Linked DNA regions of Homo sapiens: all the other regions are linked to region 2. Evidence: promoter capture Hi-C in human tissues and cell types (Jung and others, 2019). All regions are on one chromosome and are shown on one strand. Each heading gives the region's core, a stretch centred on a gene start or on the middle of the fragment in contact. The rest is flanking DNA. Distances are from core to core; before and after follow the strand shown. Region 1 overlaps ADAMTS16 (ADAM metallopeptidase with thrombospondin type 1 motif 16). Region 2 holds the start of ADAMTS16 (ADAM metallopeptidase with thrombospondin type 1 motif 16). Region 3 overlaps LOC101929200 (a long non-coding RNA gene). Region 4 overlaps ADAMTS16 (ADAM metallopeptidase with thrombospondin type 1 motif 16). Region 5 overlaps LOC101929200 (a long non-coding RNA gene). Region 6 has its middle 120 kb from the start of LINC02114. Region 7 overlaps ADAMTS16 (ADAM metallopeptidase with thrombospondin type 1 motif 16).

Region 1 (3,036 bases), core at 499-2,998, 150 kb before region 2:
ACACAGGCTGGAGTGCAATGGCACAATCTCAGTTCACTGCAACCTCTGCCTCCCAGGGTTCAAGCCATTCTCCTGCCTCAGCCTCCCAAGTAGCTGGGATTACAGGCGTGCACCTCCATGCCCGGCTAATTTTTTGTATTTTTAGTAGAGATGGAATTTCTTCATGTTGGCCAGGCTGGTCTCAAACTCCTGACGTCAGGTGATCCACACCATTCAGCCTCTTAAAGGGCTGGGATTACAGGCGTGAGCCACTGCGTCTGGCCCAGGTTTGTGTTTTAGAAAGATCACTGCGACTGCAGAATGAATAAGACACTAGAGGAAGCTAGACTGTAGGTAGAAATTTCTACTCAAGTCTCCTGAGGCTGCAAGAGTGAGAGGCTGGTGGCTTGACTATGACCAGAGCCTCATTTCCATTAGAGAGGGCCATTCTGTCTGTCCACAGAATTTATGCTTTATAATTTGACATTTCATCAATGCCTCTGTGAAACTCACAGGACTGAGCACATGCAAAATACTAAACATTTGTTGACCAGTTGACAATGAACGTCACCCTCCTCAATTCACATATACAGAGCTATGTTATTTCCTAAATATAGTAACATCACTAGAAGTTTCCTTTTGGGCTCACCATAATGTACCTGTGTTTCAGCAGATTTGCTTTTGCCTGTGGATGTAGAAATCCATAAAGTTATAGCCAGGCACCAACAGGGCAACACAAATCAAAGTTCTTTGTGAAGTCTTGCCCTGGTCCATGACCCTGGCTGGCTGACTGCCCGAGGACAGCCTTTCTGTGTCTAAGGCCTTGTGGTGTGGGGGTGGGGGGGTGGGGAAGCCGTGGCTCTGCGGTCAGGATGCCTGGGTTCCAACCTCAGCTCCAACCTTGCCAGCTGGACGGCCTTCAGGAAATCACGGGACACCAATGTCTCCATTCTCTCCTCCGCAAAGGGGAGATGGTCACAGTAGCTTTTCTATGCAGTGCTGGGCAGGCTGGGAGGACTAGCAGACAGGAAGTGCTCGGGAAGGGCTGGCTGTGGTTATCATGATTTCATTCCTTTGTCTCTTCCTCATCCTGTCCCCTGCCTCTTCTCCTCCTCAACCCTCACCTGGGAAAGGGAGCTCATTCACATGTGGTCCACAGGATTCCAGACATTCAGTCCCTCAGCCTGTGTACAAGAGGGAAAGCCATGTTTTCCTATAGCAGTATTATTTTATACTTATTATATACATCCCTTCTGAAAATCAACAAAGACCTGACTGGTAAATACGAATTAAAAAAAAAATCACAGAGACACAGACATTAATTTTGTTGTATTGCCTCTCAGTGATTTTCCGGCATTGGTAAAAATGATGTCATGATATGGTCATCACATGGAACTATGTGATTTTGGAATATTTACTCTTATGAGAACTATTGAGAAATTTTAGAATTTCTAAAATTAGAAGAATGGGGAGGTTGAAAGAATGCAGAAAACAATGCTCCCAAGTGGTGGTAACTGTACTGGATGGATTTATTTATACCTAACGAAAAGAAAGTGAACGCCATCTCAGTGACGCCCGAAGAGCCCGCACAGGTGTTCTCCACCTCGTCTGGGGAGAGAATGAAAGCAAATGGTCACAGCGGGAAGAACAGGCCTTTCAGGTCCTACACAGTGAAAGTTTACAAGGGGAAAGAAAAGACTGCCAGTGCCTCTTACAAATCCTTCATTTCAAACAGAAAAATGATATTAAAAACTTGATTAACTCCCAAGAGAAGCTGCTGAAGCCCACTGCAGCATGGAAACAAGAATTTTAGCGCCTCTATTTTGTGCAACACCTTTTTTTTCTTTGAGATGGAGTTTCGCTCTCGTTGCCTAGGCTGGAGTACAAAGGCTCGGTCTCAGCTCACTGCAACCTCTGCCTCCCTGGTTCAAGTTCCCATCTCAGCCTCCTGAGTAGCTGGGATTACAGGTATGCACCACCACGTCCAGCTAATTTTTGTATTTTTAGTAGAGACAGGGTTTTACCATGTTGGTCAGGCTAGCCTCAAACTCCTGACCTCAGGTGATCCACCCATCTCGGCCTCCCAAAGTGCTGGGATTACACGCATGAGCCACCACGCCCGGCCTAGGCAACACCTTATTAACATTCCCAGGGGAGAAGTGGCCCTTCTGCCACAAAGTTCATGGACTGTGATCGTGAGACCACTGACTTCGTTTAGACATTTTAACAGCTGACTAGGAAATGTCTTCCTCATACAGTTTCGGTGAAAGCCAGCTGCAAGAACACAAGCTTGTGGGTTACACAGATTTGATGATTTCAGATCTGACTTGCTTCTTTACCTCAGGAGATTTTGCTATCCTGAAGACAAGCCATTTTCTTGAGAAAGGAAATATGTTTCCTAAATCGCTGAGAAGATAAATGTACTAAACAATACATCATCTAAGTCAATGAAAGATACTTGCATGCTAATAATGAGATGACCGTAGACTGAAACTAGGTTTAGGTTTTCTGAACTGCTTGGAAATTCTTGGCTGCCATGCCATTAACACTGCTATTTTGCCCTGATTGAAAGGTGATGTAGAGACAGCACTTTTGATTAAGACACTCATTTTGCTGGAGGATGCTTTCATCTAGCCCAAAAGTTGGCAAGTATCTTATTAAAGGGCCAGATAGTAAATATTTCAGGCCGGTGGAGATCTCTGCTGTGAGGACTCATCCCTGCTGCATCAGTGAGAAAACCACTGGAAACCCCATGTACATGAATAGGCCTGACTGTTCTGATGAAACCTTATTTACACAATCAGGTATGGCAGGCTGCACTTGGCTCACAGGCCATAGGTTGCCACCTGCTGATTTAACCAATTCTACTTATAAATAATCGAACTGGACATATCTGTAAAAACCAGAAAGCAACTAGTGTTTTTACAGCACCCAAGACACCTTACAAGATAGACCTGTTGGAGTTTGATACCTATGTTGAGCCTAGCTATCATGGATTACTAGGAGATTAGGACAAATGACCCCATTGTTGGGAATGTTAACAATGAAACAACAGCA
Region 2 (3,070 bases), core at 338-2,837:
TAAATTCACTGTGACAATTTTTTTTAACATTTTATATCATTTGCACCTAGCGCCCCCTGGTGGTTCTCAAAAAGGTACTATGGTGAGCGTCAATCTGACACCGGTCACCTTATATACTATTTGTGTACTCATTTGGCAGGGAATAATTTCAAAAGTTAATGCATATATTAAGTGCTTGCCTTTATGTTATTTTATCAAATTGAAATAACTATACTGAGAAATTCTGAATTGTTAACTTTAATTTTCTAGATCTTCTGGAAATACATTGAGAGAATGAAACCTAGTTCTTCCTATAAAAGTCAATTAATATTAACATTTGATACGGCAATTTATTGTTGGTAACAATGCAAAATAATATTTATTAACTGTCATTGGATGGGTTCAGGTTAAAAAACCACCTAGCAACCAGTGCGACACACCTGCGTTCTCATTTACCTGATGCAGTATGAAGACACAGAGATCCCTTTCCATAAGACAGCAAATTTCCAAATGTCACTTGTAAGTGGCAGAAGTAAAAGCATGCATTGAAAAAGAATAAGACTTGCCCTCATGTCAAATTGTGGCCCAGGATATGAACGTTGCTGATGGTGTCACAATCAGCTGATTAGCCATTTCAGGCACTATTATGTTTGAAGTACGCCCTGATTGTTGGAGCATTAACTTTGGTATTGAGATGCTAAGCGCTTCTTTTATCTCCTTCACTGAGAATAAGCAACGATAGAGGAATATTTTAATCTATAAAGGAGGAGAAGGAGGAAAGGTTGGGGACGGGAAGGAGGATCCGAGGATGTAGAAGGGGACGGAAAAGAAAGTAATTTGCTCTTTATGACGGCTTTGATGCATACATTAATAGCTTTAGATTCTTCCTAAGCTCTTTAGAATAAAATAAAATGAACTTCCTCACCTTTTTCCTAATGTTATATCAATAACTCTGGCAAACCGTTTTGCCAGGGAATAAAATGTAAATATTGGTGGAAATCCACTCATCGGGGCTCGCTCATACAGTTAAAAAAAAAAAAAGTTCACAACAGCATCTTAAAAGTAGGGTTCCACAGAGTCGTGAACATTCACAGCACCTAATAAACCAGCGGCACGGAGATTACGAGCTGCTAAATGGCAAGGATTAGAAGCCCCCACCTCACGGACTTACCGCCCTTTTCCATCCAGCCCGGCCGCTCCGCGGGTGGAGGAGGACGCGGGACGCTCGGGCTCCCAGGCGCTGCCGCTGCGGGTCCCATGGCGCACGCAGGTGCCTGCGGAAAACAGCGGCGACATCGCGGTGAGACGGCGGGGTCCGCGGGAGAGGAGCCGCGGGGGACTCGCCTCCAGCTGTCCGGACCCGCGGTTTCCGCGCTGGTGGGAGCGCCCGGGACTCACCTGCTCGGCCACCTGCGCCAACAGCATCCACAGCGCCGCCAAGCCCCGCCATCCGCGCGCGCGGGGCTTCATCCAGGAGCGCTCCGAGGGGCTAGGGGCCACCGGAGGGTCCCCGGCCGGCAGCGTGCGAGCGGGCAGGGAGGACCCGACCCAGGCAGAGCGCGGGAGGATTCCCCACAGCGACTCCGCCGCCGCGCCGGGGTTATTACTGAAGCTCCGTGCGGCGCGGGGGGCGGAGTGGCAGCCGCGGCGGCGGGGGCGGCGGGAGCGGTGGGAGAGCGCGGGGCGGGCAGGGGAGAGAGGAGGGGAGGAGGTGAGGGCGGGGGGGTCAGAGGACCGAGGAGGGGAGAGTGCAGGGACAAAGAGCAGAGGGGAGGAGGCGAGGTCAGCGGGGCGCTGAGGCGGAGGCGAGCGGGGAGCAGAGGGAAGGCGGGAGACAGCGGGCAGCGCCAGAGGAGGAGGACGCGGGAAGATGGAGCTGCCCACGGCCTGCAGTCCGTGCCTCTCTGCCCGCGCGGGGACCACACAGTTGGAGAGGCTGCCGGGCACCGGCGCGGGCGATGCTCAGCATGGACCTCCGGCCGGTGCGCGCTCCTGCCCTGCCTTGGGGCTGGGGACTCGGCGGGACTCCAGCTACTGCAGTGGCTCCGCGGGCTCCCACCTCCGGGCCGCACCGGCGCCGCCAGAGGCCGGGACACCTGCAGCCCGCGGAGTGCGGTCTGGCCGCGCCTCTGTGCCCGGGCACAGCTGTGGGGACACTGGGTGCGGAAAACCGGGCGCCAGGACGTGGGAGAGCCGCGGACCTGCCTTTAAAGGCGCGTGCCTCGCTCTGGAGTTTGCGGAGCGATCGGAGACGGGGAGGCTGAGGAGGAAACTCTTCCCCCGCGCCATTTGCCCCGAGATGTGGCGGCGCTCCTGGCCCCGCGGTCACGGCCACCCTCAACTGGCCAGGCCGCGGAGGCCGGTGACTGGCTGCTGGGTGCAATCCCTAGGGAGGTCTCAGGGCTGCGGATGGGCCTGGGTCTCGGCCGCCACGGGGGTCGATCGGGCTACTGTGTGGACAGGGTGGCCAAGGAGGCAGCAGGTGTGCGGTCAACAGCCTGGCCAGAATTCTGCTGTAGCTGGATGGGGTGTGTGAGCGCGCGGGTGTACATGTGCCTGGGTGTGCGCGGGTGTACATCCACACCTGACTGCGTGTGCGCGAGTACACGCTGTGAGCCCATAGTGTGTCTGGAATTGGTGGGTTCTTGGTCTCACTGACTTCAAGAATGAAGCCGCATACCCTCGCGGTGAGTGGGTACAGCTCTTAAGGTGGTGCGTCTGGAGTTTGTTACTTCTGATGTTCAGATGTGTTCGGAGTTTCTTCCTTCTGGTGGGTTCGTGGTCTCGCTGGCTCAGGATTGAAGCTGCAGACCTAGGCGGTGAGTGTTACAGCTCTTAAGGCAGAGCCTCTGGAGTTGTTCGTTCTTCCCGGTGGGCTCGTGGTCTCGCTGGGCTCAGGAGTGAAGCTGCAGATCTTCACGGTGAGTGTTACAGCTCATGAAAGCAGAGTGGACCCAAAGAGTGAGCAGTAGGCCGGGCGCGGTGGCTCACGCCTGTAATCCCAGCACTTTGGGAGGCCGAGGCGGGCGGATCACGAGGTCAGGAGATCGAGACCATCCCGGCTAAAACGGTGAAACCCCGTCTCTACTAA
Region 3 (3,048 bases), core at 107-2,606, 220 kb before region 2:
TCAAACATCTTGGTTTGAGGTTGCCACCATCCATTTCCTGGGACCCATATAAGTCTTGATGAGAAAGTAAATGAAAGATATCCCCCTGTAAAGAAAAATACCAAAGGCCAAGTGGAATACTATTCATCTTTTTGTCATCATTTTATGCTAGTGTTAATGATATTGTTACCTAATTTTAGAAACAACTTAGATGTTTTTGGGAGTGAAGAGTTGGGTGCTAAAGAAATAAAACAATTTAATACTTACTGTTGATCTGTGTTGGTCCTCAGAATTCTCCAATGGATTTCAGTCATTCTTGGTCTATCTGAAGATTTGATAGACCTTCAGTCTTGGTTCTTAACCAAAGCTTCCAAACAGCATCTGTAGTTTCAGGGTCTAGGGCTCCCTTGCAGGCACCCACAGGAAGAGTTGGACATAGTTGGCCCAAATTTACATGAAGATTTGCCTTTAAAAAATTGGTCATATACGCATGTTGTCCCTGAAACGCTGTTTTCTATAAAGCAAGCAAGTTGACACGTATATCTCATATCTGACATCTGAGCTTGTCATGTACTATGACCATCAGTCAACACCCTCGTGAAGGACGCCAGCATAGGTATGTTGTTAGTCCCCTTTTAAGTAAGTCACAATTATAAGGACCTTAGCTCAGGCTGTGTCAAAGCATACAAAGGGATTTAACTTTATATTGACCTGATGATCAATCAAAGTTTTTAAAAAGGCAGCTCAAAACATTAAACAACCTGAAATATTAATTCCATAACATGTGCTGCAGTTATCTTCTCTTTGGAACGTCAGGGAATATAGACACTCATCTTAATGTGATGAGAGAAATATTTTATTAGTCAAGGTAATAATATTTGGTATTGTCTGGACAGCTTGGTTCTCCAAGCTATCTCTTTTTTTCTTTATGGTAACCTGGATGCTTCCCAGGGTCCTTTGGCTGCTGGGACCTCATGCATAGATGAGGTCCCCAACCCTAGGTAAGGTTGCATTCACTTCTGTCTTTTATGATCTGGAGTAGGATAAGAAATCCTTTAGTGGCTCCTTGGTGACCCTGTGCTTTATGTTTGTGTATTTTGGGCTGGTTTATTTTGCTTTTAGGTGTGGGGCTATACCATGTCCAAAAGTGAGTTTCTGTGTCATGATCAGAGGCTGTTTACATTTTTAATGATTTCAGTGAGTATAGTTGACACTGGTTTCTCAAAAACACCAACCTCTTTGTCCTCTAGAGTGCCTGTGATCTCTGGCTTGAGAATAGTCCAAAGTTTCACTTTGATAGGCATTTCCAGGATGTGACAAACTTAAGGTAGGAAAAAATCACTTCTTTCTGAAGGTAAATTTCTCAAATCTTCAGGCTTGACACACAAGGTGGCTAATTATACTTTTTATTCTACAAATAAATAGAATGTTATAATTTTAAATTATTTCTAAGAGGTCTATAGAAACACAAACACACAAACACAAGTATTGACATAATCACACTTTCTACTTCATTGCTGAAAAATTGGATTTTTACTTAAAAATGCACATCTCATCTTTCAGCTCCCATTTATAGTGAGAACATGTGGTGTTTGGTTTTCTGATCCTGTGTTAGTTTGCTGAGGATAGTAGCTTCCAGCTCCATCCAGAGCAATGTGAACACATGGACATGCACGGGGAGGGAGCAATACATACTGGGGCCTGTCGGGGGGTGTGCAGGGGGAGGGGCAGCATCAGGAAAAATAGCTAATACACGCTGGGCTTAATACCTAGGTGATGGGTTGATAGTTGCAGCAAACCATCATGGCACACGTTTACCTATGTAACAAACGTGCACGTTCTGCACATGTACCCTGGAACTTAAAATAAAAAAATGAAAATGCACATCTAATCCACAGACTTTACAAATAATTTACAACACCTCAGTAGGGATTGGCATATTTTTCAGAATTAGTAACACTGAACTTAATTTATCATTCCAGGAGGGATTGTGTACTTTGGTGAAATGATTTCCAAAGAAAAGTAAAAACTAATTTTGGCCTCAAATTTCTGCTAATTGTGTAATTTAAACCTCTATGACCTTAACTTCCAAATATTTTGGCCATATTAAACAAAATAAAATTGATTTGTTAGAAAATGACGTTTCGTAAATACAACCATCCATCCAGCCAGCCACTCATTCATTCCTTCATTCTTTTGTTCATGTCTTTATTTTCTTACATTAGTGAGTTGGATTTTCCTTCTGCTGTGGGAAATAGTGCAAGGAATTACATATTATGAGGTGTATCTCACACAGCTTGACTCTCTTCTCTCAGGTCGATTCATTCACTTTGAAGCGTTTAAGAGAAATGTAGAATAGAAACTGAGGAGGGAGCTTTGGGAGAGTGCCTGAAGACACCACATTCCTTTGGTGTCTAACACCAGCGCCTTAGGGCTGGTGAGGAAATGGGGGTATCCAAGAAGGTGGCCTAACTTGTTCTCCTTAGCAGTGTAGCTCTTGGAGTAAGAACGCAATCTGGAAGGAAGCTGTGATTCTGGCCGGGACCACCGGCAGTTCCTCACTCCACCTGGAGTGTTAAGGACCATCCCAGAATCCCTGGGGCCTGTGGTGGCTCAGTAAACACGATTTGTGCCACAGGCTAGGCCTGGGTTTGCCATGGAGAAACCAATTTTTATCGATGTTGAGGGCATATGAGAAAGTCATACATAACCAAGCGCTGTTAGTTATGGTTGAAATCTGAATGGAGATTAATAGTATAACACATTGACTGATAAAATTGTGTCATCAATATTATTATCAAACTGTAGCAATAAGATGAAGCAATTTATTTTCCTAAGCAAAAAGAAAAAAAAACAGTCTATGAGTTAAGTCCAATGTTAACCCCCCACCTTTATCCTACAGGGGGTAACATTAATGTTTACTATTAGGTTATAGTTCCTTTCAATGAATCGAAGGTCTAAAATTAAAGGGCTCACAGATTTCTAGGCTTCACTGGGCAAGCATTTCTCTAGAGTAATCTAAGATGAAAAGTAATTTTTAAATAGCTGAGCACATGATTTTCTTAAGTA
Region 4 (3,308 bases), core at 753-3,252, 180 kb before region 2:
CAGCTAATAGCTCTGTCTGGCAAATAAAAGCGAATTTGTCACGCTCTGCGGCTGCTGCAGAGAGGCAGCCCCCAGGTCTGATGGGGGTCCCGTGGAACCTATTATTTTCACAAGAGCCTTCTTGGAAGTTTTCTGCAAAACTGAAATTTTCTTCTTGTGCTGACCCCACTCACTCAACCACGCATCTACCCATTGGAGCCTCTGTTGACTGAATTTCAATTCTCCAATTCTCTGGTTGAGCCAAACCACTCGCCTTCCTCAAGCCACATTATCTCTCAGAATAGCCTTAACAGGCGCCCAGCCATCTGTCTCCGCAATGCTGGGGGATTTTGTGTGTGCACAGGGATGGCATTTAGAGGGCACCCAGTGAATAAGGGAGGCTTTTGTTTATCCTAGGGAGAAAAGCTGCTTTAGTTAAGATTGCTTTCTTTAAATATAGTGAACAGCATTGATATAGGAAAGAAGTCACGCTTATGTCACTACCATCTATGTTGTCCTGGGGCATCATGAGAGGCAGCCCGGTCTGCTCTATGGACCATTTCATTGTAAAACTGGAGAAGATGCAAAGAGAGAAAAGGTAGATCAGACGCAAGACCCTAACTCCAGGCCCCCCAAGGAACTGCTCCAGAAACCTGACATTCCAGCCCCATGCCCAGGTCATGCTGAGGGGCCCCATGTACTCACCTTTCTTCTCTGCAATGGGGCAGAAGTGAGTGTTGCAGGCCAGGGAGGCCGAAGGCTTCTGGTGCAGGAGGCAGCCTGAGGCCGGCCGGCCCCCAGCCAGGCACTGCACGGACCTCGTCTGAACGCCTCCCCCACAGCTGGCCGTGCACTGTGAGAGCAACACACACATGTCACCATGGCCCCAGGCTCTCAGGCACCTGGTCAACCTCAGTGTGCCCACCTTTCTAAAAGGCCTGCTGCTGCAGGCCAGTGAGGGAAGAGCGACTTAGTCGCAGAGGCAGGTGGAGTTATGGTTGGCCACGATGTGCGCGAGTGAGCACGGTCCCTGCTCACCTTTTCCAGAAGCAAGCACCAGGCATGTGCTGGGCCAGGCCTCTAGCAGAGCATTCCAAACCAACCAGCTGACATAGCTCCTGGAACCCTTCCTGTTTTCAGATAGAAGACAGCCTTGAGCCTTGAGCGGTGACAGGACTTGCTCAGGCTGGGATTTGAACCGCTAGAGTTGGATTCTATAGTCTCAACAGACGGTTCCCGGGCTTGGGCTTTGTGGGGGCTGAGTTCACTTTTTAAAAAAGTAAATATACTGCCGGGCACGGTGGCTCATGCCTGTAATCCCAGCACTTTGGGAGGCTGAGGCGGGTGGATCACCTGAGGTCAGGAGTTCGAGATCAGCCTGGGCAACATGATGAAACCCCGTCTCTATTAAAAAAAGAAAAAAAATTAGCTGGGCCTGGTGGTGGGCACCTGTAATCCCAGCTACTTGGGAAGCTGAGGCATGAGAATCGCCTGAACCTGGGAGGCAGAGGTTGCAGTGAGCTGAGATCATGCCACAGCACTTCAGCCTGGGCAACAAGAGCAAAACTCCATCTCAAAAATAAATAAATAAGTAAGTAAGTAAGTAAGTATACTGATTAAAAAAGCTGATATTCATGGATTGGCATATTATCTCCTCAAATTACAGGCAGCAAGGAAGAACAAACTTAGATCCCCCTGCCAATAAAGTTACCTACAAGTTATCCTTCTGATTGAAAAACATGAAAAGACTTAACATCTTGGTTTCTATTTACGGTATTTCAGAGAACACGGTTGCTGATGTTACCACCTGGGACCTGGCGCAAAGGTACTTACTTCCCTAACTCTTGTCCCCAGGACCAGCCCTTGTCACTGCTGGTTGGGGTAACCCCTCATTTCCTCTTGCCTCTGCATTTGAAAGCACCGCCCCTCCACCCAGACCATTTGAGGTGGTCTCTCTGTCTACAACTGTGAGTGGCTGGCCAAAATTAATCTAGGTATGGATAGAAGGAGAAGTGTCTGGAAGTCTAGAGTATTTTTGAGTGTGTCAATGATGGTTGCATGGCCACAAGGAAACTGGTGCATATCTGGGGATACCAGGCTTGTTCTCTGAGCCTAGCGTGAAAGAAGTAGTGCCCTTCAGGGAATGCCCTTGACAAGCCACCCTTTCTGGTGGTCCGACGGGGAGAAGCTTGACAAGCCAATCTTTACAGTGGCACCATCACCCACATTCCCAGGCCCCTGATGCATGAGGGTGGGCACTGCCAGCTGCTGGGGCTTATTTTGCTAAGGTGTTGGCATCCTATTGAGGCTCCCCCAATACTTGGAGTATCAACAGCACAGGGAGAGAGAGGGAAGGAAGGGAGTGAGCTCAGTTAGATTATCTTTCATGAGCTGGCATAATGCACATGCCACAGAACATGAGCAGGACCCATCTGAGATCAACCACTGAAAATAAATCAGTGGTTAGGCAGCTAAAGATACAGAGACACTGGAATCTGTGATTGAGTCATCTGAAAAATAAAACTACCCACTGTCTAGACTAAATCATGTAAATTGTGCTCAAACGAGGCTAGGGTTGGAATATGTTGGAAATGTAAGCAATTAAAGGAGCACCTGCAAGAAGATTGGGTCAGATAACATTTTGGAAGTCCTGGTGCATGGTGGGTGAAAAAAACAACAAAACTGTTGCTTTAAAATGCAAGGATCACACTGTGAAAAACTGGGGACATGCATGACTCCCTTTGCTGCCCCAAACCTACAAGAGAGTATGTCAGAGACCATTCCAGCAAGTGAAGGCATCAGGCCTGGGGCTGGTTCTCCACAGCCCAAACCAGCCTGCAAGTGAACAACCAGGGACTGAACCTTTCTGGGACCTCCTGCAATCAGAGCTTTACGAAGTGACTTAAATCGCTGGGGATGGGATTCAGTGATGGAGCAAGTCAAACATCTTTATCTGCCCACTGAGAGGAGAAAAGTTGGAGACACAAATGGCCCTGAAAGTCACAAGCTGAAACTGTTTGTCTGTTTTTTTCCCCTCTGGATGAGGAATGGCTGAGCCCCTGAGCATGTGTCTGGAACTTATCTGGGAGGCTTACTCCCTTTGCTTCAAACCCAATTTTAGAAAAAGTTGCCAACAATATATGACTACGGAAAGTAGAAAAAATAATGTGGGGAGATTCACGTTTGATTTCAGAATTATCAGGGTCACAAGGATAGAGCCAGATGTTGCCCATCACTTATTACATCTTTCGGAACATTCTGCAGAACCACATTTCTGCCTTTTTTCTCTGCTGTCTGCATTCCAGACACCCTCTTAGCTCACACAGTGC
Region 5 (2,985 bases), core at 360-2,859, 200 kb before region 2:
ACCGATTTGATTCACGTGCCCCCTCCCACGTTCGTCTGCGCAGATGGAAGGCCGTGCTCATCTTGGCAGTGTGTACATCTTCCCCTGGCAGAATGACCTGGCTGTGGCTCCCCCTGGGGTGTTGCCCCCACCCCCAGGGAGCATAGGGAATGCACATGCTGTTCTAGTTTGTCCTTGCTAATGGAGGGCAGGCCCGCCTAGTGTTCCGTTTGGAGAAGAGGCATGCAGCACCTACCACCCCACAGTGGGCCACCAGAACATTCGCTCATGGTGGAGAATGATCCTGCTCCCACTGCAGTGATGTCTACTTTGGGACACCTTGGCTTCTAAAGAAAAACACTATATTAGCTTTCATAAAAATTCCAAAAGCTCCATTTAGTAATTATTGAGAAAGCATCTGTCACACAATCAGTCAGAATTAGGATCCATGAAGGAAAAGAGTTAGATTGACGGTTGGCCCAACCTGGCCTCTCTGCCTCTAAGATGGAAGACCTGTGTCTCTCAGGCTCCTACCTTTCCCCTTCCCCCGGCACCATGACTCAGGCGCTCAGGCAGTAAATCCAGGGCTCATGGGGTCTTCTTTATGTTCCGTACTTCTGGTGACTTACCTCTTAGTTTCTCTTCCTGTTTCCCATTCCGGCTTCAGTCCTTTGCCACATCATTGAGGAGGACCCTCGTCCCTCCTCCCTGTGCTGCCCATGGCACTTGTCTTGGCTTCCTGAATGGTCCAGTCTTCTCTCACTGACTGGCAAGTCTCAGTTCATCCTTAGAATTGGTTCCAGCCTTGACTCCATGGCTCCTGTGGGAAGGTACCCTTCCTCCTCAGCCCCTCTCCTGCCCTCCATCCTGGCCCTGCACTTAGCCGGTGTACATGGTTCACACAGCCTACGTGTACTTTTGATATTTTGCTTCTTGTGCTTGTGTTGTGACATCAGCCTGGAGAGTTTTTTGCCTCCAGACCTCAGCGAGTTCCTCCTAATCAGATAAGTGGCTCCTCTTCCCACCCTCATCCCAAACTCAACATCAACACCATGATTTTAAAATCAACGTGTCAATTTCCATGCTTATTTATGCAGGCTCTTATGGTAGCTGCTTGCGGCTTCAAATTTGGAAAACTTATTTCCACAATATAATTAGAAAGCCACTCCAGAACAGGGATTGGCTTATACACTTCTCATTCTTCAACCTAGGTAGCACCAGTAGGAACTCAGACAAAGTTATTGATGAATTAGGTGAAATGAATTTATCTAAACACTTACTCAGCCTCCAGTGCTTTTAGCCTTTGTGATTTTGAGAACAACATTGTCTAACCTCAGGGTGTTACCAGACATTGGAAAGTTTTAATGTCTCAAGTGACTTAGGGTGGATAGACCTGGGTAAAAAACAGGAAAACAAAGAGAAACAGGAACTGAAGGAGATTCCTGGAGAGGTTTCTGGAATGAAAAGTTCTTGGGGTTTGTGACCCTAGAAACCACAAACTTTGTGGTCCTGGTGTTAAGGACAGAACTGCTGAGGCTCGAGGAATGTGTGCACACTAGTCCCTGAGTGCCATGACCTGACAGCGTCTGCAAACAATGTCTCATGTGATTAAAGCCAAAGCATGACCTCAGGGATGGGGACTCCTGGCACACAGCAGCTTAAAACTCCAGGGAGAGTAGGTATTTTCTTTACTTGAAAGCACTCTTTGCATGAAAGAAGAATGCACACTCAGGGGCTGCTTTCGTACTCACTGTTCATTTAACCCTGGTTTGTAAGATGTCATAGTTGAGGAAGAGAAAAGAAAAGGTATCTTCAATGATTAGTTTTGTTTTCCTTTGTCATAAGATAGCAACCGAGGAGTGATTTAAGGAGGTCTGAGATGTGTGCTTAAGATAATCCTTTTAAAATGGTAATTAATCATGACTGAGTCATAGATGACTCTATCAAAACAGTATCTTACATTTTATACAGCTTCAACTTTTCCAAGTATTTTTATGTCTTTTATCTATTTACTTTTCAAGGGGAGGCCAGATCCAGCATACCAGCTTCCCACGCATAGGTCTTTCTCCTTTTCCATGGTTTTGTGTGCATAAATACATAATTTGGGCCACCCACTTAATTTCAAATAATCCTTATTAAACACTGAGTATTTGTTAATCATCTTTACATTTGCTATTTCATTGACAAGGAAATATGGTTCAAACATACACATTTACTCTCTTCTCAATAATTCCTGACCTCCACCCTCACCAAACTAAGTTGCAAGAAAATTGGGACCTATTTGGAAGATAATCTTTGTTTTTCTACTCTGCACATATTTGCCCATTTATGATGTTTGTGGAAGGCAGGAAGAAGTTTCTCATCTTTTCATTTTTGGCAGACTTATTGCCTGAGAGCTTTGGAGTGTCAGATACCTCAGCCAATGAAACACCATCTGCTACTGGACAGAGACTCTTCTTTGAGGCCCCAGTATTCTCTGCCCTGGTCTTCTAGGCTGAGCCATCCATCTTTTTCTATCTCTTTTCAGTAAGCTGAGGAGAAATGCTAAGCACTCAGGCTGAAATGAAAATATCTCACCACGCGCTCCCATCCATAAGAGAACCAGGTGCGTTTGCAGCACGGATCCTTCATCACTGTGCCAGTGACCTCATTTTCTTGGGACTAGATACTCTATTGAGAAAAGGGGCTCCTTCCTCATTAAATTACTTCCTCGGTTAAATGAGTGCGTTTCTGAGATTCTAAAAGTAAATTCAGCCAGGTCTAAGGATATTCAGACCAAAGGTGAAAGGTAGGTTGTTCTTGTGTGGATGGCAGGAAGAAAATGTGCTGGGGACCCCTTGATGTCCTGTGGAGGGACTGGGGGTGAGAAGAATGGATAAGGGTGTTGGGCTTGTGGGAGCCCAGTGCGGCTGGGAGGGAGCTGGGGGCACGTGCTGAGCTTGTACTTGCACATGGTGAGTGTGTGGCCCTGCCAGGACACCCAGGGGAGCTTGTCTCAGGGGCCAA
Region 6 (3,165 bases), core at 339-2,838, 250 kb after region 2:
ATTCAACATTCTTAAAGAAAAGAATTTTCAACCCAGAATTTCGTATCCAGCCAAATTAAGCTTCATAAGTGAATGAGAAATAAAATCCTTTACAGAGAAGCAAATGCTGAGAGATTTTGTCACCACCAAGCCTGCCTTACAAGAGCTCCTGAAGGAAGCACTAAACATGGAAAGGAACAACCAGTACCAGCCACTGCAAAAACATGTCAAATTGTGAAGACCATCAATACTATGAAGAAACTGCTGGACAAAATAACCAGCTAACATCACAATGACAGGATCAAATTAATACATAACAATATTAACCTTAAATGTAAATGGGCTAAATGCCCCAGTTAAAAGACACAGACTGCCAAATTGGATAAACACTCCAGACCCATCGGTGTGCTGTATTCAGGAGACCCATCTCACATGCAGAGACACACATAGGCTCAAAATAAAGGGACGGAGGAAGATCTATCAAGCAAATGAAAAGCAAAAAAAAGCAGGGGTTGCAATACTAGTCTCTGACAAAACAGACTTTAAACCAACAAAGATCAAAAGAGACAAAGAAGGCCATTACATAATGGTAAAGGGTTCAATTCAACAAGAAGAGCTAACAACTATCCTAAATATATATGCACCCAATACAGGAGCACCCAGATTCATAAAGCAAGTCCTTAGGGACCTACAAAGAGACATAGACTCCCACACAATAATAATGAGAGACTTTAACACCCCACTGTCAATATTAGACAGATCAATGAGACAGAAGGTTAACAAAGATATCCAGGACTTGAACTCAGCTCTGCACCAAGCAGAACTAATAGACATCTACAGAACTCTCCACACCAGATCAACAGAACATACAATCTTCTCAGCACGACATCGCACTTATTCTAAAATTGACCACATAATTGGAAGTAAAACACTCCTCCACAAATGTAAAAGAACAGAAATCACAAAAAATTTCCTCTAAGACCAGAGTGCAATCAAATTAGAACTCAGGATTAAGAAACTCACTGAAAACCACACAATTACTTGGAAACTGAACAACCTGCTCCTGAATGACTACTGGGTAAATAACGAAATGAATGCAGAAATAAAGATGTTCTTTGAAACCAATGAGAACAAAGACACAATGTACTAGAGTCTCTGGGACACATTTAAAGCAGTGTGTAGAGGGAAATTTATAGCACTAAATGCCCACAAGAGAAAGCAGGAAATATCTAAAATCAATACCTTAACATTACGATTAAAAGAACTAGAGAAGCAAGAGCAAACCAATTCAAAAGCTAGCCGAAGGCAAGAAATAACTAAGATCAGAGCAGAACTGAAGGAGATAGAGACACAAAAAACCCTTCAAAAAATCAATGAATCCAGGAGCTGGTTTTTTTAAAAGATCAACAAAATTGATAGACCGTTAGCAAGACTAATAAAGAAGAAAAGAGAGAAGAATCCAATACATGCAATAAAATTTGATAAAGGGGATATCACCACTGATCCCACAGAAATACAAACTACCATCAGAGAATACTATAAACACCTCTACGCAAATAAATTAGAAAATCTAGAAGAAATGAATGAATTCCTGGACACATACACCCTTCCAAGACTAAACCAGGAAGAAGTTGAATCTCTAAATAGACAAATAACAGTCTCTGAAATTGAGGCAATAATTAATAGCTTATCAACGAAAAAAAGTCCAGGACCGGACAGATTTACAACTGAATTCTACCAGAGGTGCAAAGAGGAGCTGGTACCATTCCTTCTGAAACTATTCCAATCAGTAGAAAAAGAGGGAATCCTCCCTAACTCATTTTATGAGGCCAGCATCATTCTGATACCAAAGCCTGGCAGAGACATAACAAAAAAAGAGTATTTTAGACCAATATCCCTGATGAATATTGATGCAAAAATCCTCAATAAAATAATGGCAAATCAAATCCAACAGGACATCAAAAAGCTTATTCACCACAATCAAGTCAGCTTCATCCCTGGGATGCAAGGCTGGTTCAACATACGCAAATCAATAAATGTAATCCATCACAAAACGGAAGCAACGACACAAACCACATGATTATCTCAATAGCTGCAGAAAAGGCCTTTGACAAAATTCAACAACGCTTCATGCTAAAAACTCTCAATAAACTAGGTATTGATGGAAAGTATCTCAAAATAATAAGAGCTATTTATGACAAACCCACAGCCAATATCATACTGAATGGGCAAAAACTGGAAGCATTCCCTTTGAAAATCAGCAGAAGACAAGGATGCCCTCTCTCTCACCACTACTATTAAACATAGTGTTGGAAGTTCTGGCCAGGGCAATCAGACAAGAGAAAGTCATACAGGGTATTCAATTAGGAAAAGAGGAAGTCAAATTGTCCCTGTTTGCAGATGACATGATTGTATATTTAGAAAACCCCATCATCTCAGCCCAAAATCTCCTTAAGATGATAAGCAACTTCAGCAAAATTTTAGGATACAAAATCAATGTGCAAAAATCACAAGCATTCCTATCCACCAATAACAGTCAAACAGAGAGCCAAACCATGAGTGAACTCCCATTCACAATTGCTACAAAGAGAATAAAATACCTAGGAATCCACCTTACAAGGAATGTGAAGGACCTCTTTCAGAACTACAAACCACTGCCAATAAAATAAAAGAGGACACAAACAAATGGAAGAACATTCCATGCTCATGGATAGGAAGAATCAATATTGTGAAAATGGCCATACTGCCCAAGGTAATTTATAGATTCAATGCCATCCCCATCAAGCTACCAATGACTTTATTCACAGAATTAGATAAAACTACTTTAAAGTTCATATGGAACCAAAAAAGAGCCCGCATTGCCAAGACAATCCTAAGCAAAAAGAACAAAGCTGGAGGCATCACGCTACCTGACCTCAAACTATACCACAAGCCTACAGTAACCAAAATAGCATGGTACTAGCACCAAAACAGATATACATACCAATCAAACAGAACAGAAGGCTCAGAAATAACACCACACATCTACAACCATCTGATCTTTGACAAACATGACAAAAACAAGCAATGGGGAAAGGATTCCCTATTTAATAAATGGTGCTGGGAAAACTGGCTAGCTATACGTAGAAAGCTGAAACTGGATCCCTTCCTTACACTTTATACAAAAATTAATTCGAGATGGATTAA
Region 7 (3,351 bases), core at 356-2,855, 130 kb before region 2:
GCAAGTGATAAAAAGGCCTGATTCATGCTAGAATGCAGATGGGGGCGGGGCAGCCGCGGGAGGGCCGTAGGCTGCTTGTCTGGGCAGTGCCCGCGCAGGGAGGAGCCTCCGTGTGAGGGAGGAGCGGGAGGAGCGGAAGGAGCGGGAGCCACAGGCTGCACAGCTCCCCGGTCCTGGAGGAGCCACTGGGAATTGCTGATGCCTGTTATTTCTCCAGGATACTCCTGCTGGCCGAGGCTGCACAGCCATTTTAAGAGAATCTCCAGCAAGAAGACTTCTAGACACCCAACACCCTGCCCCCTGCAGAGATTTAGGACTTAGGGGATCCCATCTGGCAATGCAATTGCAGGAGCCTGCAAGGCTGCAGGACGGCCTCTGGGTGCTGAGGAGGAGGCTGGGGCTCCAGCCAGCACAGCAGGTTTCCTTTTTCATTTAAGTTAAAAGTGATAAGGCTGTGGATTAAGATGTTTTACAGGTTCCACCCCTCAATCCTTGTGGAACCCTCCTTCAAGTTGAACATGAAACATCAGATCACACCCCACTGAGCCCCACTTAGTGTCAGACAGAGCACGAACTGTGGGGAAGGAGAGTGCGGCTTATTCCCTCGGGGCTGTGGCTCCAGCTTTGCCAGGCTGCTGAGGACAGAGCTCGGAGTACCTGCAGCCTAGAGGCCAGGGAAGCCTCTCAGGGAGGCAGAATTCAGTAAGAAAGATGCACACTCCATCCTCAGAGAAACGGAACATGGGTTTCCTGAACATTTAATCAGGAACAAAAAATTGTTAGTATCCAGGACATAATAGAAATATATTTTGCATTTCAGAAGAAAAGTAAAGCAACATTTTAAATTAAAATCTATGTTCCCAACTCAATTGTTAAAATCATACAATGAAACAACAATCCCCAAGGGTTGACATATGCCATGTAGGTCCATTATTCTGTGTTTTTGCCATGGATAGTTTTGCTTTATAGACTAAATTCATAACTGTTGTGAATTTCTTTCTCCTTTTACAGCAACAATAATCATAGCCAAGATTTAGTGAGTGTTTATCACACCTGAGAGCATTTACGTGGAATCCTCACCTTATCCTAGGAGACAGGAGACCTGGATCATGCCCGAAGTGGGGAAGGCAGGGTCGAGCCCAGGGAGGCAGGCAGTGTCACGGCTGCACCTTTGACAAGGTGCAATGCCGCCCAGCGCCTTTGTCTGACTCTGGCCCATGGACATAACCCATGGCAACCAGACCACTCCATAGAAAGAATTCCAGTGCAGGAGAGTTGTGGGAAGGGAGCCTGGAGATCTTGTTTCTCCTGTGAGACAGAAATTTACTAAGCTCCATGTGCGATCAGGCCCTGGCTATTTGTGGGCGATGGACGGGGAGATCCACTTGGTTCTCCTTAAGATTCTCCCAGGCAGGAAAGCATGGCATTGGGTTCACAGAGAGGCTTCTGTATTGTCTCAAAGTTTCCCCTTTCAGAGGGCAATATGAACATTCCAAAATAGGAGGTCCACATGTCAAAGGGTGCCATCGGATGGAGGGCTCCAGGGTTGACTGAAGTGGATTTGGGGCAGCCTCAGTCTCATGTTTCTACTTGCTGTAGGACACATCAGCTCCAGCTTCCCCTAGACTGGCCCTCTGCTGCTGAACTGCACCTTTTCTTCCAGCACACAGTGCTCTTGACAGCATGTGTGTATTAAACCGTGTTTGAGAGAGTCAAGTGTAGAAGATAGGACACAGCAGAACGCAGGGATGTCTTCAGCTCCAAATCTCTCAATACCAGAAAGACCAAGCGTAGAGAGGTGGAGGCAGAGGAGACCCAGCCAGAAAAACAACAGGAACCACTGGGCGAAATGGGTCACTTATATGGAAAAAATAGTAACTTCCAAAGGCTCCTCTAGAGGCTCGGGACCATCTGCCCTTTGTGATGGGAGGGAGGGCAGAGCAGCGGGGTTGGAGGCACAGGGAGATTCTGGCAAGAGGAAGGGCTGGTCATTGCTTCCTTCTCTTTAGTCTGAGGTCCCAGGTGGAGAGTGTGGGGCAGGGAGATGGAGGAGATTGCAGGTGATGTGAACTCAATGTCCTGGGAGGTGGGGAGCAAATGACCCAGGGGCAGGTGTAAGGATTGTGTACCATCCTTGGGTGACCACACTTTTAGAGTGATAACATGGGATTTTGGGGGTAGCATTTACTGCTGAGCTCCATGTGCACAGTGGGTCAAGAGTTGGGGGTATCCAGGCTGAGGTGACCAGGGTAGTATAGGGGAGCGAGGGTGAAGCAAGGCAGCTCAGGTGCTGGTGAGGGGAGGGTTCCAGCACTGCCACAGCCTCTGGCCTGGGTGGGGGCTCCGGGGTCCTGGGCAGTGAGCGGTGGGACGATCAGCCATGCAGTGAGACAGAAGGACAACTTCAGTGTGGATCTTGAAGCATAGGAGCTGCATGACAAGAGGCATGGCCTGTCTGGAGAGGGGTGTTAAGGACCGAGAGGTCACAGGTGAGGTGTGTATGAGCTCAGAATGTGGCTGAGCTGCACCAACTAGACCCAGCAGGCATGGCTTAACAAGGGAGGGAGCGGTTCCCTTTGTGCGAGTCTGAGCTGGTGGGCAGTTGTGGGGTCGGGGAGCGCAGTCCTTCTCCAGGTCACCAGGCTCGACTACCTCCGTCTTGGCCCTCTACTCCCCTAGAAGGTGACCCCTGCCTGAGGGGCTGCAGCTGCTCACTAAGGCCAGGACCTGCTGCAGCCACAGAGGTGGGCAGAGAAAGAGGAAGGAGCAGCTGCCTCTTGAGGGCTTAGCATGGAGGGCATAGGCTCACATCCCATGGGCCAGACCTTAGCCTGGGAGGACAGAAATAGTGTCCAGTCGGGATCCCTGTGCAGGTGGATGTATGCAGTGTATGGGGCAGCGGCTTCTATTAACAAAGACGGGAAGGAGAAATGGACCTTGAGGGATACCTCTGGGCAGTTATTGTTGATGGCAGGCGTGAGAGACCGAATCAGGGGAGACCATTTGATGGACAGTCAAGGAACAGAGAGGTAGGTGCGTTGGAAGGATCCCACGGGTGGATTTAATGTTGACAAACTGACCACAGCAGTAGCAGTCGCAGTTGCAGTAGCTGTGGTGACCGAGCGTCTGATGAGACCTTCGTCTGCAGTGCTACGTACGGTGAGTCAAGGATACCGCAAATGCTCCTATCTTGGGGTCCTCCCAGGGGAGCTCCTGAAGGAGGCTGACGTGAGGCAGATACTTTACATGGGAGATACGTGGGAACATACAAATGTGGTTTAGATGTATTAAGGAACAGTTGATTCCAGAAGCTTTGTGATGTCTGAGTAGTGCCTATTTCTCAATGGTGGC

What was found. The method cuts DNA at HindIII sites, captures the fragments that hold promoters and counts their contacts. A contact is called where the count stands out against the background at its distance.
Region 1: a contact is called between a fragment that was not itself captured here and the fragment with the promoter of ADAMTS16 in region 2, in 1 of the 25 tissues and cell types used here (lymphoblastoid cells).
Region 3: a contact is called between a fragment that was not itself captured here and the fragment with the promoter of ADAMTS16 in region 2, in 1 of the 25 tissues and cell types used here (spleen).
Region 4: a contact is called between a fragment that was not itself captured here and the fragment with the promoter of ADAMTS16 in region 2, in 5 of the 25 tissues and cell types used here (dorsolateral prefrontal cortex, heart right ventricle, liver and 2 more).
Region 5: a contact is called between a fragment that was not itself captured here and the fragment with the promoter of ADAMTS16 in region 2, in 1 of the 25 tissues and cell types used here (adrenal gland).
Region 6: a fragment that was not itself captured here is called in contact with the fragment with the promoter of ADAMTS16 in region 2 in 1 of the 25 tissues and cell types used here (ovary).
Region 7: a fragment that was not itself captured here is called in contact with the fragment with the promoter of ADAMTS16 in region 2 in 1 of the 25 tissues and cell types used here (thymus).

What each region holds. Positions count from the first base shown.
Region 1 is chr5:5,289,441-5,292,476 of GRCh38, reverse strand. All of the region lies in intron 18 of ADAMTS16 (ADAM metallopeptidase with thrombospondin type 1 motif 16), which reads right to left. All of the region lies in intron 5 of LOC101929200 (a long non-coding RNA gene), which reads left to right. Among named protein-coding and RNA genes, the nearest start is that of ADAMTS16-AS1, 110 kb to the right of the region's middle. The HindIII fragment of the contact is 4,931 bases long and covers 1-3,036 here.
Region 2 is chr5:5,138,847-5,141,916 of GRCh38, reverse strand. ADAMTS16 (ADAM metallopeptidase with thrombospondin type 1 motif 16) reads right to left here and starts at 1,587. Exons shown (of 23, transcript NM_139056.4): 1 at 1,378-1,587; 2 at 1,151-1,253. The coding sequence starts at 1,449. It overlaps ADAMTS16-DT (ADAMTS16 divergent transcript), which reads left to right and starts at 1,863. Exons shown (of 4, transcript NR_109915.1): 1 at 1,863-1,961. RefSeq lists an enhancer at 1,815-2,381. The HindIII fragment of the contact is 9,507 bases long and covers 1-3,070 here.
Region 3 is chr5:5,355,075-5,358,122 of GRCh38, reverse strand. The region is part of intron 2 of LOC101929200 (a long non-coding RNA gene); the gene reads left to right. Among named protein-coding and RNA genes, the nearest start is that of ICE1, 66 kb to the left of the region's middle. The HindIII fragment of the contact is 4,299 bases long and covers 1-3,048 here.
Region 4 is chr5:5,315,658-5,318,965 of GRCh38, reverse strand. ADAMTS16 (ADAM metallopeptidase with thrombospondin type 1 motif 16) reads right to left here. Exons shown (of 23, transcript NM_139056.4): 22 at 685-832. It overlaps LOC101929200 (a long non-coding RNA gene), which reads left to right. Exons shown (of 6, transcript XR_001742583.3): 4 at 1,762-1,804. Among named protein-coding and RNA genes, the nearest start is that of ICE1, 110 kb to the left of the region's middle. The HindIII fragment of the contact is 6,242 bases long and covers 1-3,308 here.
Region 5 is chr5:5,334,679-5,337,663 of GRCh38, reverse strand. All of the region lies in intron 2 of LOC101929200 (a long non-coding RNA gene), which reads left to right. Among named protein-coding and RNA genes, the nearest start is that of ICE1, 87 kb to the left of the region's middle. The HindIII fragment of the contact is 7,492 bases long and covers 1-2,985 here.
Region 6 is chr5:4,888,723-4,891,887 of GRCh38, reverse strand. No RefSeq gene overlaps it. Among named protein-coding and RNA genes, the nearest start is that of LINC02114, 120 kb to the right of the region's middle. The HindIII fragment of the contact is 3,596 bases long and covers 1-3,165 here.
Region 7 is chr5:5,268,185-5,271,535 of GRCh38, reverse strand. All of the region lies in intron 18 of ADAMTS16 (ADAM metallopeptidase with thrombospondin type 1 motif 16), which reads right to left. All of the region lies in intron 5 of LOC101929200 (a long non-coding RNA gene), which reads left to right. Among named protein-coding and RNA genes, the nearest start is that of ADAMTS16-AS1, 94 kb to the right of the region's middle. RefSeq lists an enhancer at 1-241. The HindIII fragment of the contact is 3,475 bases long and covers 1-3,342 here.